Linked DNA regions of Homo sapiens: region 2 is linked to region 1. Evidence: promoter capture Hi-C in 16 types of primary human blood cells and fetal thymus (Javierre and others, 2016). All regions are on one chromosome and are shown on one strand. The core of a region is centred on a gene start or on the middle of the fragment in contact, and the rest is flanking DNA. Distances in the headings are between cores, read along the strand shown. Region 1 holds the start of ZC3H15 (zinc finger CCCH-type containing 15). Region 2 overlaps ITGAV (integrin subunit alpha V).

Region 1 (3,326 bases), core at 552-3,051:
GCATGTACTATATTCAGAAATGTGTATTTTCCACTTGAGGCAAGAAAGGATCTTTGTTCTCTACCTGGGCTACACTTCAGAGGAAAAAACCGAAAGCAAAGGTCAGGAGACAGAAGAAGTTATGAACCATGAAACTGGAGCCATTATCATAACATTATGAGACTCTAGATTCTTTGTAACTTCCCCATATTTGTTACTTATAATTCATTTGCCTCATAATAATAATCAGTAAAATTACTCAAAATCAAAGGCCCAAAGGGCATCTTTGGGGCACTAAAAGTAGGAAGTTAAGACAACTACATTCCATATGCAAACAAAGTCTCAAAGGAGACGATCCCCAAATAATCAAATGGATAATAATACTGAGTAAAGAGGGGGCTGGCTGCATCCCTCCATCCTCTGACAAGAACTATGACAATTACAAAAAATAAAGATGAAAATATGTAAAAGGGGGGGAGCCCATTAACCTGCCAATATGAGCCCAAATGAAAAAAAGTGTGTCAACATACACCTGCCATTCTCGACACAATTCTTTTTAGTAGCTATCACATTTCTTCTACACACACACATACACACACAAAACATACTTGGGGTTCCTTGACATTATCTTACGTAGAAAATTACTAAGCAAATAATCAATTTGACTAAGTAGGGGGGCTTATCGTTTTCTCCCTATTCAAATTAATGAAAAAGATAAAAAAACTTTTATCTATAAAGATGATTCTTGGTTCCACAATGCTTCTTAACAGAAATAGTTTAAACAATAATCATTTTAAAAAATAACAGCTAAGCATTGTACATTTTTAAAAAATAGTATTTTCGTTTGTACAAATATCAATGGGTCCCATTCATCATTCAAGTACCTTTTCAAACAGGATCTAAGTTTGTAATGTTAGGTAATAGGCATATAGGCTGAAGCCGGACTGCCAAGATTACAATTGCTGGCTCTGTCCTTAATATAACTTTGGGCATCTTTCTTCCTTTCTCTGCTTCATCTATAAAACGAAAACAGTAACAACTCCCACCTAAGTGTCGTTGTGATAACTAAATGAAATAGTGTGTGTAATGTGCCAAGGAATTTCTGGAGCTACCAAGCACTTAAACTAAGTTCTAACTAAGTTTGGTTACTTTCACGTTATAAAGGAATTTTTAGGAATCACCTAGGCACTCTCCTAAAGTCTCAAAATAACTTAATACAGTACTTCTAAGGAGTTCAAGTGCCTCCTTATCTGGGACGCCATCTCAGATGCTCTTCAAATGAAAGGGACCCTGCAAATGAAAGTTAACTTTTTCCATTTTTTAAATAATCCTTCGCAGGAATCTGAAGCACGCGACACTCACGGGCCATTCAGCTCCGCCTCTCCAGGGAACAAGAAGGTTAACTGAGTAACGTGGTCACGGAGCAACCCCGAGTCGCTGCGGCTGCTTAGTAGTCACTCAGGATGGGGATGGTACAGGGGACCATTAACTGGCCCGGCAGGAAAAGTTTCCCGGTGAGGTGACGATGGACAAGAGTCGCCCCATCGTAAGCGAAAGTGGACTGAGAGGAAGCACAAACGCATGGACTCAACCAGCTCGCCCAGATTCACCCTCAGGCCTTTTGCCATCTGAAAAGGGCCTATCGGATGCGCGACATCACGAGTGACGCGTAGTCATTTTCCCACGTCCCGTCCCTGCCCCCTCCTAGTGGGACGCAGTGGGCGCGCACGCGCAGCTCCGCTTCCGGGAGCCGCTCCTCGCTACCCACTATGCTCTGCGACATCGACCTGTCGCAAAGGCCGCGTTTGCGGGGCCAATGAGCGACTCGCTTTCCGTGCGGTGCGGCGAGTGAGGCCCCGGTCTTCCTCCTCGTCCTGCCGCAGGGCCAGAACCCCTGACGGTATTCAGCTGCGCGTAAGTCTGGCCGGTGCCATCTGTCTCCGCAATGCCCCCCAAGAAACAGGCTCAGGCCGGGGGCAGCAAAAAGGCGGAGCAAAAAAAGAAGGAGAAGATTATCGAAGTGAGTACCCACCCCTCCCCCACTCACGCCGCGAGCCCTCCGGAAAGCCACTTCCCCGCTCCGGGCTTCCCTGGGAGCCGGCTCGCTTCCTCGGGCCACGTGTTCCTCCCTTAGGCCTGTGTGGCCCACTGCCCCTTCTCCAGCCCCTGATGACGCTAGCTCTCTCATTACTATAGTGACGCTGCTGGCGCCCCCGCACCTGGGCTTTGCCTCTCCGCCCACACGCCCGTGTTCACCCACCCATGCACCCGGGTGCGAAATGACCCCTCGGGACTGGCACAGGGTTTTATCCTTCGCTAGTCCTCTCAGAATTGAGGAGATTTTCCAAGGTTATGTGTGAAGAAATACGCTGAACGGTCTCGGGCCAGCGTCTTTCTGGAAGACCGACTCATGACGAGTCTTTGTGTTCGTTATTTCTTTACCCGTCACCCAGGGATGGTACTGTTAGTTCTTTTGAACCAACAAATTACGACTTGGTGGCTTTTTCGATCCACCTCTGAAATGTTTAAAGTCCCATAAAGAATGGAAGGACTTTCCGTCACAACCCAGGGTCTTGAACGCAGAGCTTGGTACTTACATTCTGAAGTGGATTAAATAGGATAACGCCTTAAAAGAGATTAGGTTTCAGTGTCACTAATTGTGTGAAGTCCCGTAACCCAGTTTGAGATATATGTGTGTGTGTGCGCGTGTATATATGTATACATCTATGTGTGTGTATATGTGTATATATGTGTGTGTATATATATTCGTTTAACACATTGAGCCTGTAGCCCTTTAATGGCCAAGGAACGCTATTGACGTTCTTACATGTTGTGCACTTGTTTTCCAACAACTGAATTGAGTTTCCTTAAAAGATGAACCATATTTGACATTACGTAAACATACCATACAGACCCCAACGAGGTATTTCTTCCCTCGATTTCTGCTATTAATCCTCCTCATAATTAAATAGGACCTCTTGTACTTTGGATATAATTAGAAAAAGCCATGACCATTTTACCGCATAAGGTGTAAAGTCTGCTCATTGGATTTAAGAAAATGCTTAAGAATTTTGCTATACTTGGCCAGGTTCCAACTTTGGAGGAGAACTGGTATTCTTATTGCCAATTTGTACAGTTTAAAACTGTCATGAAGTACTATAGCCAGACACTTAAAAACAAAATATTACCTTCACATCTGTGTTTTCTATTACCTTATTTGAACAATCTGGATTCGTGGCACTTAGGTAAATTTCAGGGGTTGCTGATCGGATGGCATTCACTTTTATGAAAACCAAGGACATTTTAGGGATGTCGTTTTCCTCGAGATTGGACCCTGATACGAAGTA
Region 2 (2,982 bases), core at 340-2,839, 180 kb after region 1:
TTTTTATTGAGAGAAGCATTCGATTTGCACCCAGTGTGCTATTTTCTGTTTTCTATCAAGCTGTGAAGTAGTCTTAAAATACCTTGAGACACTGTTGAACATGTCAGTGCTGTGTATTTATCTCTTCTTTCTTTGAACAGTCATACTTTCCCCATGTAGTCTTTTTTTCTCAGTCTGGATTTGTATTGTTAACTTGTAGTGATCAAAAGAAGATCTATATTGGGGATGACAACCCTCTGACATTGATTGTTAAGGCTCAGAATCAAGGAGAAGGTGCCTACGAAGCTGAGCTCATCGTTTCCATTCCACTGCAGGCTGATTTCATCGGGGTTGTCCGAAACAATGAAGTAAGCAGGCTGCCTCTTTAAAAATTGAAATGCACTCACGGATCTTATTAACATTAATGAGCTGTTCCCCTATTTAGTGAAGCACAAGCTTAGCTATTCTACCTAAGGCTAAATTGATAGACAATGGAGTGCCTATCTTACATAATTCCTTTTAAGCCTAATACTTTGCATAATGCATTGATATGACATTTTTAGAATTGCAAGCTAAGTGCCTGGAAACAAGGTTAGATAGATAAAGTGTCTAAGCCTGTCCATCAAATTATTTGTCAGAGGCTGTATGGTTTTGTATGGTAGTCCTCTAGGGATCTTTCAGAAACACTTCTGCATTTCCATGTGGCAATTGTACCCAATTCTGGCTTTTTCCTTACCTCCTGGTTTGCTCAACTAGATTTATTTGCTTAGGACAAGAAACTGAAATATCCAACTGCGTGATACTTTATTTCCTTTCATATCCATTTTTTTTTTTTTTTTTGGTCTATCAAAGGCCTTAGCAAGACTTTCCTGTGCATTTAAGACAGAAAACCAAACTCGCCAGGTGGTATGTGACCTTGGAAACCCAATGAAGGCTGGAACTCAAGTAAGACAATTTAATTAAACGGATTTTTCTCCCTGGCAAATAGAAAAGCATATTGTTGTCTGGGCTCATAGTAATTTTTAAAAATAAACACTTCAAAACAATGTCCTTAAATTGGTTTCGATATAATAGTTAAATGATTAGCAGAGTTTTGCTTAGTTTTAACTAAGATACGAAAACAATTGGTTGTGCTCCTACACGGTTTGCAATCAGCTGCTCTTTATGCCTCCTTCACTTTAGTGAATGGATGAGAACGTGGTTTAAACTAAGGACTGAAATAATAATTTTTGCTATTTTACACTGATGCCTTAATGGATCCTGAAAAGCTACTCTGGCAACTACCAAGACTGTCAATCCTAGGTGAGCTAGATTCCATCACAGGCCCCACACAGAGGATCAAAGTGAAGGTCAGTTAAATCAGGCTCCCCTTCAGATGGTGGAGCAGGGTGCCCAGGAGCTTGAAAAGAAGCAGCCAATGGCTTGCTTTCCGAATCCTCTAAAAAGTAAACAAAATATACCTTGTAGAATTTCTAGTAGCAAGGACAAAATGGCAGCATATGCTGTGTGACTTTTTCAATAGAATTTATTTAATGACTTATTGATACTGGTACTTTGAAGATCTGTGGTAATACAGGTCTAAATATTCCATATTTCTTTAGTATGTTTTCTATTACAAGTCATTAGTATTTCTAGATGTATGGTATCTTAGGGATGAGAACTTGAACAAATTACCCTAAGTTCAGTTTTTCACGTGTATTCAATGTTTTATTAACAATGAGCATGCCTTTTATTTTCTCATATTCTCATTCTCTCTAACTTTCTGGTTATTATATAGTTTCTGCTTATTACAAGTAGCCAGCTCCAGGTTTTGTGGAGTGGGAGGCAGAACCCAGGAAGTACTGTTTTTATATGTCATTTGTGTGATCCCCAAGAAGCCTTCTTTTTTGTACCTGGTGGTTCAATTGTTTTATTTAAAATCTACCAATTTTCTGCCTGCAGGAATTAGGATATTTGGTGTTGGGAGTGTTATGAGAGGTGTGTGGAGAAATTCTGGTTGTGGCCCTACTCATGCCTTCTTTAGCCATGTTCCCTTACTCTAGTAAACCATCCATTTCTTCTTTCCTGGCCTATGAACACAGCACATACTTTGGTGGTTAGCTTCGTGTTATCAAATTATTGTACCCAGTTGCTAGACTTTCACTGGATCAACAAACATTTACTTTTGCACTTTTTAGAAAGATGGTTAGTATTATAAGGAGGTATAATTATGATTAATAATTGTTGTTAAATAGGCTCTCTTATGGATTGGTCCAGGTATATTAAGTAAAATAGGTTTGATAGAAAATAAGATTTAGTTATCTTTGTTCAGTTTTATTGTAAGCTCAGAAAAACCCCATTTTAGAACATTATTTTTTATTTAGACATTGGATTTGAAATTTTGCTAATTAGACATTGACTAGCATTACTATCTTTTCCTCTCTCCTTTAGCTCTTAGCTGGTCTTCGTTTCAGTGTGCACCAGCAGTCAGAGATGGATACTTCTGTGAAATTTGACTTACAAATCCAAAGGTATGAAAACAACTTATATTCACTTATAACTATCAAATAAATATTATTTGTTGTAAATATACTATGTAATATACTTTAAATATAAAGTAGCAGATTAAATTTTATTGCTTGACTATAGCATTTTAAAATCAATATTTACATTATAAGAATAATTTTATTGTCAGATTTGAGTTTGTAAAACAAAATTTAAAATCCAGAAAGAAAATGTTCATCTTCTTGGAATTAAGTGTTAATGAAAATAACTATTTTGAGGTATAAGCTTTACACTTGTTTCGTTTGTTAATTTTTAGTTTCACTGGGTTTGCCTCTGTATGTTCTTGGTTGTTATGCATAATTCATTTTTAAGTTTTTTTTTTTCTTTTTCAGCTCAAATCTATTTGACAAAGTAAGCCCAGTTGTATCTCACAAAGTTGATCTTGCTGTTTTAGCTGCAGTTGAGATAAGAGGGTCAGTATGAATACTTAGTTGAGTATCTCATTCTCATGATTGCTTT

Evidence for each region. The method cuts DNA at HindIII sites, captures the fragments that hold promoters and counts their contacts. A CHiCAGO score of 5 or more calls a contact.
Region 2: a fragment that was not itself captured here is called in contact with the fragment with the promoter of ZC3H15 in region 1 in 1 of 17 cell types (M1 macrophages); the score reaches 6.5 in M1 macrophages.

Annotation. Positions count from the first base shown.
Region 1 is chr2:186,484,459-186,487,784 of GRCh38, forward strand. It overlaps ZC3H15 (zinc finger CCCH-type containing 15), which reads left to right and starts at 1,802. Exons shown (of 10, transcript NM_018471.3): 1 at 1,802-1,999. The coding sequence starts at 1,925. LOC105373785 (a long non-coding RNA gene) reads right to left here and starts at 1,542. Exons shown (of 2, transcript XR_001739147.3): 1 at 1,342-1,542. RefSeq lists an enhancer at 1,432-1,911. The HindIII fragment of the contact is 12,604 bases long and covers 1-3,326 here.
Region 2 is chr2:186,664,295-186,667,276 of GRCh38, forward strand. It overlaps ITGAV (integrin subunit alpha V), which reads left to right. Exons shown (of 30, transcript NM_002210.5): 20 at 200-347; 21 at 832-924; 22 at 2,410-2,489; 23 at 2,856-2,936. Among named protein-coding and RNA genes, the nearest start is that of FAM171B, 28 kb to the right of the region's middle. The HindIII fragment of the contact is 2,313 bases long and covers 434-2,746 here.